3 separate regions of the Homo sapiens genome follow, and regions 2 and 3 are each linked to region 1. The links are contacts of gene promoters, found by promoter capture Hi-C in human tissues and cell types (Jung and others, 2019). All regions are on one chromosome and are shown on one strand. The core of a region is centred on a gene start or on the middle of the fragment in contact, and the rest is flanking DNA. Distances in the headings are between cores, read along the strand shown. Region 1 holds the start of ZC3H4 (zinc finger CCCH-type containing 4). Region 2 overlaps ARHGAP35 (Rho GTPase activating protein 35). Region 3 overlaps ARHGAP35 (Rho GTPase activating protein 35).

Region 1 (3,384 bases), core at 355-2,854:
AAAGACAGAGCGAGAGCGAGGGAGAGCGGGCGAGCGCCGCGAGGGGGGGGAAACGCATGAGGCCGGGAGAGAAAGCAAGCGAGAAAGAGCGAGCGAGCAAGCGATCGAGAGACACCCACCGACCCCGCCCTTCCTCCTCCTCCTCCTCCTCCTCCTCCTCCGCGGCCCGGCCCAACATGGCGGCCGCCCCCCTTCCTCCTCCTCCTCTTCCTCCCCCCGGGGACGCAGCCCCGGCCCAACCGGGGGCCTGACCTGTCGTCAGGGAGCGGGAGGCGGTGGTGGAGGAGGTGCGGGGTGGCCGGGCGGGCGTCGGGGGAACACGGAGGAGGCGAAGGCGTTGATGGCGGCGGCGGCGATGGCGGCGGCGGCGACTCTGATGGCGGCGGCGGGGGGGTCCCGGGCGCGGCCTCCATAGTTCCTTTGGGGGGGAGGGGATGTTAATGCACGAAAAAGGACTGCTTGGGCGTGGCGGGAGGGGCACACTTAAGCTCGGAGGGCTCCTGATGGGAATGGGGTATATATTTTTTCGGTTTCGGAATCACCTCTGCGCTGACCTCCGCGTAGGCCGCACGGCCTAGGCCTCGGAGGGCCGCTCGCCGCCTGCTTTCTCCGCAGCCCACCCTTGCGGTCACTCGCTCACTGGCGCGGGGCCCTCATAGGGGCGAGAGCCCCCCCCCCACGCACCCCCGGGGGGCGGGACACCCGGGAGACACGGACACTGGTGGGTGGTTGGGTGTAATTAGCGCGGGCCGCGCGCGATGGAGCAAGCGAAGGGTAAGGGGAGAAGAGGAGAGCGAGCGAGGGGGGTGGGGGGTTAAAAAGAAAAAAAGGATTTGAGGGAGAGAGGGAACGGGCCGCGGAGACGGGCCGACTGTCTCCCTTCTCTGCCCGCCCTGGGTGCCCCGGCTGCCCGGCCCCCGCCGCAATCAGGAATTGACACAAAATGGCGGCTCGGCCCGAACCAGCCTAGAGGCTGAGGCGGGAGGAAGGGTGAGATGGGAGGGGGAACTGAGAGGCGGAGGCGGAGGCCGTGTCACGTGCAGGAGAGGGGTAGAGACCGCTTGCCCGAAGGCCGGCGGAAAGAGCCGAAGGCAAAGGGCGAGGCCGAGGGGAGGCGGAAATAGCCGAAAGGAGCTGAGCAGGAGCGAGGAGGCGACGGGGGAGAGCCAGAAAGAGCTGAAGGTGGTGATATGGGTGGGGCTAGAGAGAGCATGAGAAACCTAGGGGAGCCATAAATAGCCTAAGCCGATCGGGACCGGGGAAGGAGGAGAAACTGAGACGGTCCGGAAAGAGCCGAAAGCGGTGTCCGGGTGGGTGGCAGGAGGTGGAAACAGCCGAAAGAAAAGCAGCCAGGGTAATGCGATTAAGAGAATGAGCTGAACGGGCGGGGCTGAAGGGGAGAATAAACGACTTTCAGGAATTCGCCGGAGAGCAAGAGGGAAAAACCGAAAATTGCTAGTTTGAAGGAAGGCGGGAAGAGCCAATAGTTTTAGGTGGGAGAATGGGAGGGAAGGAATTCAGGCTACGGAGAGGGAAAAAAAAAATAACCGAAAGCTGGAGGCCAGGTGCCGAGAGTCGGAGGTTTCCGGAGAAGCGATGAAGCCCAGCCAGCCCGGAGGTGACGTCACTCGACAACCCAGTCGATGATGTCATCATTGGATGCGAGAGGGGCGGGGCTTGGTAGTCCCTCAGGGGAGTTTAAGGACCTGGGGTGTAGGACCCATGGAAGGCTCTCAAATAGCAGAGCTAGAAACACTGGCCGGTGTCGTAGACTGTACAAACAAAATCTTTTGACCCTCATAACCGTCCTAACATAAGCTGCTGCTATTCCCATTTGCAGACTGAAGTTCGGTGTTTTAAGTAATCGGTTCACGGTCATAGGATTAGTTCTAAAAAGCACAGCAAGATTTTTTTTTTAAGAGACAGAGTCTTGCTCTGTCGCCCAGACTGCAGTGCTGTGACACGATCATACCTCACTGTAACCTCGAATCCAGGGATCTTCCTTAAATACTTGTTAGCTCTTTCTACAGTGCCAGTCCCTGTGATGGAGCATGGGAACAGTTTCTGTCTTCATGGAACTTAACCGATAATGCCCCAAGGGAGAGAAACAGAGTTAAAGAATAAAGGGGGTGGGTGGAGTGTTAGAGGAGGGTCTTGTAATTGTTCTTTTAGGCTGGTACATGAAAAAGAAGAGATGGTTCCAGGCAGAAGAAATACCTTATTTCAGGCGGGGCGATGTTGCTCACGCCTGTAATCCTAGCACTTTGGGATGCCGGGGCGGGCGGATCGCTTGAGCTCGGGTTGGAGACCAGCCTGACGAACATGGTAAAACCCCTTCTCTACTAAAAATACAAAAATTAGCAGGACATGATGGCTCACACCTGTAGTCCCAGCTGCTCGGGATGTTGAAGAGGGAGAATCGCCCGATCCCGGGAGGTCGCGAGGCTGCAGTGAGCCGAGATTATGCCACTGCACTCCAGCCTGGGCAACAGAGTGAGACTCTTGTCTCAAAAAAAAAAGAAAAGAAATACCTTATTTCAGGCCCTGACAAAGCAAAGACCACTTAGATTCCAGGAAGAGAGAAAAACCGTGTCAACAGTGATAAATCTGGAGACAGAGGCACCATGTGACTTCCTGGTATATTGATCCTACTTTTTTTTTTTTTTTTTTGAGGCAGAGTCTCGCTCTGTCGCCCAGGCTGGAGTGCAGTGGCGCGGATCTCGGCTCACTGCAAGCTCCGCCTCCCGGGTTCACGCCATTCTCCTGCCTCAGCCTCCCAAGTAGCTGGGACTACAGGCGCCCGCCACCACGCCCAGCTGATTTTTTGTATTTTTAGTAGAGACGGCGTTTCACCGCGTTAGCCAGGATGGTCTTGATCTCCTGACCTCGTGATCCGCCCGCCTCGGCCTCTCAAAGTGCTGGGATTACGGGCGTCAGCCACCGCGCCCAGCGGATCCTACTGTTTTTTAAATGTTCCAGCTGGCAGCGGGGCGTGGTGGCACACACCCATAATCCCAACACTTTGGGAGGCCGAGGCTGGCGGATCACTTGAGGTCAGGAGTTTGAGATCAGCCTGGCCAACGTGACGAAACCCCGTCTCTACTAAAAAGACAAAAAATTAGCCAGGCATGGTGTGGCGCGCCTGTAATCCCAGCTACTTGGGAGACTGAGGCAGAAGAATCGCTTGAACCTAGGGGGTGGAGGTTGCAGTGAGCCAAGATGGCACCACTGCACTCCAGCCTGGATGACAGAGCAAGACTCCGTCTCAAAAAAAAAAAAAAAAAAAAAAAAAAATTAGCCAAGCGTGGTGGCCGGCACCTGTAATCACCAGTTACTCGGGAAGCTGAGGGGAGAATCGCTTGAATCCGGGAGGCAGAGGTTGCA
Region 2 (3,384 bases), core at 467-2,966, 230 kb before region 1:
ATTGCGCCAGTGCACTCCAACCTGGGTGACAGAGCAAGACTCCATCTCAAAAAAACATAGTATGCCTATACGAGTTTACTAGTTTTTAGCTTTGTCAAGGAGAGAATTTAAAAAAGAAAAATTATTCCCACCATTATTTCATAAAAAGTAGGATCTAGGCTGGCCATGGTGGCTCACATCTGTAATCCCAACACTTTTGGAAGCGAAGGCAGGAGGATTACTTGAGCCCAGGAGTTGGAGGCTACAGTAAGCAATGATTGTGCCAACTACACTCCAGCCTGGGCAACAAAAACAACAACAACAAAAAGGATCTAACTTCAGAATAAAGGATATCCCTTCCCAAGGAAACTAGCTGCCTTATAGGGACATATGTAGGTATATACTTATAATTCTCATTTTAAACATAAACTGAGGAAAACTGCCACAGGCCAGCTGTTTAACTTTTTGGGGCCTTAGTTTTCTCATCTATAAAATAATGATGATATCCTTTTTTTTTTTTTTTTTTTTTTTCCCCTTTTGAGATAGGGTCTCTTGTCCAGACTGGAGCGCAGTGGCATGCTCACAGCTCACTGCAGCCTCGACTTCCTGGGCTCAGATGATCCATCTCAGTGTCCCTAATAGCTAGGACTACAGGCATGTGCCACCATGTTGTATTTTTTTTGTAGAGATGGAGTTTTGCCATGTTGCCCCAGCTGGTCTTGAACTCCTGGGCTCAAGCAATTCCCCCGCGTAGGCCTCCCAAAGTACTAAGATTACAGGTTTAAGGGCTAGAGTGCAGTGGCATGATCATGGCTTGCTACAGCCTCGACTTTCTGGGCTCAAATGATCCTCCTGCCTCAGCTGAGACTACAGGTGCGCACCCACCATGCCTGGCTACTTTTTAAAATTTTTAGTAGACATGAGATCTTGCTATGTTGCCCAGGCTGGTCTCAAACCCCTGGCCTCAAGTGATCTTCCTGCCTTGACCTCCCAACGTGTTGGGATTATAGGCTTGAGCCACTGTGCCTGGCCCAGGGGTCTATATCTAAATCCTAAAGCTTGCGGAAGTTCTTTCAGCTGTCCCCATGGCTTTGGGCATTATGAATAATAATCCATAGGACATAATTGGAAGGTGTTTCAGCTTAGGATGGATTGGACTTTTGAAAAGCGCCCCTTCTTATAGTCAACACAACATCTCATTCCCCTGTGAACTCACCCTTAGGGAAATCATTTTACTTTTGGACAAGTGAGACCAGATCCTCAGAGATAGTTTGTGACTCTTGCAATAATAATAGCAAATATTTCCTTAATCTTTTCTATATGCCAGGCACTGTATTATGTACTTTACATGTATTAACTCAAGGAATCCACATAACAACCCAATGAAGTAGGTACTATCCTTGTACCCATTACTCAGAATAGGAAACAGGCCATGCATGCTAGGTGATGTAAGCTAAGGATTCAGAGGAAGGAGAATAATAAATTACCCCCACTTAGAAAGTACTGGTCTGGGTTTGTGTGCTCTCTCTTCTGCCCACCTCCCTCCTCTCTCTCTGGCCCTACTTGTTTTTATTAATGTGGGGTTAATGCCGGTGATTTCATATACTAACCTTGATCATTGGGAAATGTTTCTCTCACGGGAAGGTATTTGGATGGGCATAGTACATTCTTTGGTTTGTCTTCTTGATCTCTAGTTTAGCTTACTTGTTAAAGATTTCCAGAATGATCTAGCAGTTAATTCCAGTTCCATTTTCCCCTCCACCTTTTTATTTTTAGTGAGGTCCTAATTGGATTTTTTTAATCTTAATTTTTTTAATTTTTACCTTTTTAGAGATGAGTTCTCACTATGTTGCCCAGGCTGGACTCGAATTCCCAGGCTCAAGCAATCCTCCCGCCTCAGGCTCCTGAGTAGCTGGGGCTACAAGTGTGTGCCACTGCACCCAGCTATAAATAGATTTTTATAATGTGATTTTTAAATTTTAGGGTATTAAGCTTATCTTAAAGTACAATCAAAGCCTGTCACCCATTTCATTTCTCTAATGCCTCCTTGAAGTATTTTGCTTTTGACTTCGGGGAAGAGCCTTGGAGATTGGGTACTGCATGATGCTGCAGGGAGGCCAGTGGTTTATGTTGTCGTCGTCCGTCCTGGAGTGCTTGCCTTAATGCTGCTCATTTCAAATGCCTCCTCTCTGTTTCCAAGGTTGAATTAGCATCAGGTCTTCTTTTACATCAGCCTTGTCTAATATAACTTTCTGTGTTATTCATTATGGTAACCACCAGTCACGTGTTGCTACTTGAAATGTAGCTAGTGGGGCTGAGAAACTAAATTTAAAATTTTTATTATTATTAGTTTAACTTTAAATGGCCAAAGTAGTGCAGATCTAGACTATGCTCCGTAAGGGAGGTTTTTTTTTTCTTTTCTTTTTTTCCTACTTCTAATTCTGACATAGGGCTGTGCTCTTTATGTATTTGTTAAATGCTTTCACTAGCTGAAATACAAGGAAAGTTAAAGTATTCCTTAAAGTCTTCCTCCCAGGGAAAACCGTTGTTAATAGTTGTATTTTTTAACTGTAGGATAAATTGCCAGTTTTTATTATCATTACAGTGATTCACCCTTGATTCTAGGGATCGGGCGTTACTCAAGGTTGTTGTAGATTTGGGAGTTTTAGGAGATGGAGGAGGCTTAGAATGCAGGTTATAAATGTAACAGAAAGAAGTATGACTAATACTGGTAAAAGTGTCTTTATAATGATTGTTGCGATATGATTGAATTTCTATCCTAATGCTTAAGAATCCTTAGTGAAAATGTGGGAAAGAGGATGAATCACTGTTTTCTCCCTTCCCAAATCCCAGATGATTTTGCTAGAATTTTAAGGATGGATTGAGTGTTCAGGTGATTTTGTCTTGACTTCTTGGGTTGGTTGGGATCTTTAAAGAGAGAGAGATTAAAAAGGATTTACTACTAGCAAAACTGAAAAAGCAGAAACATGTCTGCTTGAATTTTGAGTTTCTTTTCTCTTTGATAGTGGAAGCAGCATCTTAGGCCAGGTTCATTTTGTAACTGGTGTGGGTGTATGTATGCATGTGTACATCCGTCTCATGTTTGTTAAATTTTCTTGACTCCCTAACAGTTGTTTGTACTCCACATCATCAGTTTTGGTACCTTCTACTCGTTACTGAAAGGATATATTTACCTTCTCAGTGGGTTGGTGAAGATGGGGGGTGGGGGAGCATATATGGAAACTGATGAAAATGATAAAACCGTGGTGCTCCAAAGTAAAGAAAGGAATTTTTAAAAGCCTTTGAATTAACTGGAATGTGGGATCTTGGATTGGATCCTGGTACAGAAAAGGCAATAAATAGAAAAACTGGTAAAATCTGAAAGTCTGTAGTTTAGTTTTTTGT
Region 3 (3,384 bases), core at 277-2,776, 190 kb before region 1:
AGGACGAGATGCACCCGGCTGGGGCGGTTTGCTAGTTACCGGACCAGCTTCAGCGTGGGGAGTGATGATGAGCTGGGGCCCATCCGGAAGAAAGAGGAGGATCAGGCATCCCAGGGTTATAAAGGGGACAATGCTGTCATTCCATACGAAACAGACGAAGACCCGCGGAGGAGGAATATTCTTCGCAGCCTAAGGAGGAACACTAAGGTAAGACACCAGTCTAGGATTAGTCATAGTGTTTTGTACAGCGTCTCGGTGAGGGTTGATTGATGATGATTTTTCAAGGACAACCTATTCTGGTAAAAAAAAAACTGCCCTGTGTGTGTATTTGACTTAACATAAAAAAGCAGTGCCTCAATTAGCTACCATTATTGGCAGCTCTCAAGTAGTTAGGACTTTGGATAGATAGTCTGAGTTGTTGTTGCCTAAAACAATAGTTAATTAATTAGCAAAATGAGGAGATAATGCAGAACTTGTCAGTGTCTTGACAAGTGGCCAAGCGCAGTGACAATACACTTGCTCTCCCTTCACTGAAACACCAGAACTCAAAACTGCTTGCCGCAGTCTCTCACTGCTAAACATAACATTTCATCCATACATCTCTTAAATGATCCTTCCTCCCTTGCTGATCTGTAAAGGTTGCTGCATTTGAGATTGGTGAAGGATTGGATGATGATTTGCACACACAAATCAGTGACGAGTCTTTGAGTACATAAATGAAAAAAGAGAATCTTGCCACTGAGAGTTATAAACCTGTCCCGTATTTGTTAAATTGGAATACCATCCAGTCTATTATTTTATCTTCAAGGGAGTTGCTGCTGCTATCAGTCAGAAACTCGGATTTTATTTAGGGATCACAAATGGTGCAGGGAGAGAAAAGAAAAAGTTAACTGTATACATTATAAACATTGGGCCTACTCGTCATATGTAGAGACAGGAGCAAATGAAGTCTCTTTTTTTTTTTTTTTTTTTTGAGACGGAGTCTCGCTCAGTCACCCACGCTAGAGTGCAGTGGCGCGATCTCCGCTCACTGCAAGCTCCGCCTCCTGGGTTCACGCCATTCTCCTGCCTCAGCCTGCTGAGTAGCTGGGACTACAGGCGCCCGCCACCGTGCCCAGCTAATTTTTTTATTTTATTTTATTTTTTAGTAGAGACGGGGTTTCACCGTGTTAGCCAGGATGGTCTCCATCTCCTGACATCGTGATCCGCCCGCCTTGGTCTCCCAAAGTTTTGGGACTATAGGCGTGAGCCACCGCGCCCGGCTGCAGATGAAGTCTCTTATCCTGCGTAGAATTGTAGTTTGTAGTCTGCAGGGCAGAGAGCTGTAAGCAGTACTCTGTCCCCTTGGGTTTAGGCTTTGAGAAAGAAAAAGCGTTTCTCAACTTTTTCTTTTTCTTTTTTTTTTCCATTTGGAGTAGGGAGAAATACTCTTCCCCCCCACCCCCAATTGCCAAGGCTGATTTAGAAATACTGAAATACTCTTTACAGGCCAGGCGCCGTGGCTCACGCCTGTAATCCCAGCACTTTTGGAGGCCGAGGCGGGTGGATCTCTTGAGGTCAGGAGTTTGAGACCAGCCTGGCCAACATGGTGAAACCCTATCTCTACTAAAAAAGTACAAAAATTAGCTGGGCGTGGTGGCAGGCGCCTATAGTCCCAGCTACTCAGGAGGCTGAGGCAGGAGAATCACGTGAACCTGGGAGGCAGAGGTTGCAGTGAGCCAAGTTCACGACACTGTATTCCAGCTTGGGCAACAGAGGGAGACTCTGTCTCAAAAAAAAAAAAGGAAAAAGGAAAAAAAATGTGTATATATATAAATACTCTTTATTTTTTCAGAAAAAGACATTTTGGTGACATGCCACAACAGAACTGTGTTATATAATAATCCTTCACCAGCAGATTATGATATATAGAAGGATTTTTTCACGTTAAAGCTTTTGCTACTCTCCCTCCCATGAAAGAACAGAGAACAGAGTTACTTGTCTGAAAGTACTGCAGGGACCTCTGGAAAGAAAGATTGCCAGAAACTTTTATTATTACAAATCCTACCAAATCAGAAGGTTCTAGAATCCAGGCTGTCTTGAGAGCTGACAATCCTGACAACTCTGTTGTAAAATGTAATACAGAGGCCAGTTTGGCAGCCCTGCGGGCCCCGAGAGATGGAGGAACAGGGTGCCATCACCCTCCCACAGAAATTGCATCCACTTTGTGCTACATCCCATAGTAGAGAGTGTTCCTGCATTACCGCTGACCAGGAGCTTCCAGAGTTTTCTCATCTGTGCAGTGTGAGAAAGGGCAGAGTGGTTCTGTATCCCTCCCCACCTGTGCTGACTATTAATAAATGCCATAGGCATCCTCCTGTCTGATTTTCCTTTGCCTGGCTTTTCTACATGGAGTCCTTTGTCTGCCTCCAGTGTTTTCTCCTCCAAAGGTTGGTAGGAGGCCACCCTGTGGAAAGCATTGCTTATTTAGGAAGCCAGAAAACGGCCTGACTTGCCTCCGGTATTTTCCCAGAGCTCACCTATTTAATGATACTGGAATCCAAACATTTTGAACATTTCTTCTCTTCCTCCTCCTCTCCCAATGAAGACTGTTGCCAGAACAGCTTAAAAATGCTGACAGTCTTCTAATTTGTGGGGGTGTTTGCACACCTGGAAATTAGGAAGGTGGCATAATAGCATACTGAATTATAACTATATTCTGACTTCTAGCTACATTTTTAATACTTACTGAAAATGATGCTTTAAAAACACATTCCCATGCAAGCCAGGCTTTAAAGAGCACACACTGTAGTGGAGGCTCAGCAGAAAACAGCTGATCACAGTGTGCCTCTAAGATAGCTGTGTTCATGCTGGTAATGAGCACTTCCTAACCTGAGACTTCCTTCCCCGGGTTGCTGGGTCAGCGTGCAAGAAGTGGTCGGCTTCCGGTCTATCTTTAGCTATGTGGGCCACACCTCTTCAAGTCAAATAAAAATGATACTTCTGGCCCAAGAGCAATAGCGTGCCAGAAGTCAGTTATGGAGTATCCTCTGGAAAGAGTGACTAGAAGGTGAAATTTTCTTTTCCTGCCTTGGAAAATGGTGCTTTGAAATGAGGGTAGTTGCTTTGTCATCCCAGTGCAGAGATGAGCAAATCCTTTGCCGCTAGAGCAAACCTCCTATTAAAATTGCTGCAGTTCGGAACACAGACTGGCACTTGTTTTACTGGAAAAGCAAGATGCCATCAGGGGAGAGAAGGGCCAAGCCAACCCCTGTGTGGGAGATTTGGCCTTTGGTTTTTATTGGCATGACAAAGCAATACAATATTTATTTGGAGGGAGGGGGCAGCTAGGCACTAGGATTTCAGTTGGTAAGGGAAAATACACTGAGTACCTCCTGCGTGCCA

What was found. Contacts are between HindIII fragments. The study calls those that stand out against the background at their distance.
Region 2: a fragment that was not itself captured here is called in contact with the fragment with the promoter of ZC3H4 in region 1 in 1 of the 25 tissues and cell types used here (dorsolateral prefrontal cortex).
Region 3: a contact is called between a fragment that was not itself captured here and the fragment with the promoter of ZC3H4 in region 1, in 1 of the 25 tissues and cell types used here (hippocampus).

What each region holds. Positions count from the first base shown.
Region 1 is chr19:47,112,172-47,115,555 of GRCh38, forward strand. ZC3H4 (zinc finger CCCH-type containing 4) reads right to left here and starts at 1,605. Exons shown (of 15, transcript NM_015168.2): 1 at 1,549-1,605; 2 at 253-418. The coding sequence starts at 413. RefSeq lists enhancers at 1-510, 511-1,238, 1,118-1,277, 1,518-1,747 and silencers at 1-367, 618-707. The HindIII fragment of the contact is 19,933 bases long and covers 1-3,384 here.
Region 2 is chr19:46,884,007-46,887,390 of GRCh38, forward strand. The region is part of intron 1 of ARHGAP35 (Rho GTPase activating protein 35); the gene reads left to right. Among named protein-coding and RNA genes, the nearest start is that of ARHGAP35, 25 kb to the left of the region's middle. The HindIII fragment of the contact is 4,791 bases long and covers 1-3,384 here.
Region 3 is chr19:46,922,150-46,925,533 of GRCh38, forward strand. ARHGAP35 (Rho GTPase activating protein 35) reads left to right here. Exons shown (of 7, transcript NM_004491.5): 2 at 1-207. Among named protein-coding and RNA genes, the nearest start is that of ARHGAP35, 63 kb to the left of the region's middle. The HindIII fragment of the contact is 4,223 bases long and covers 1-3,384 here.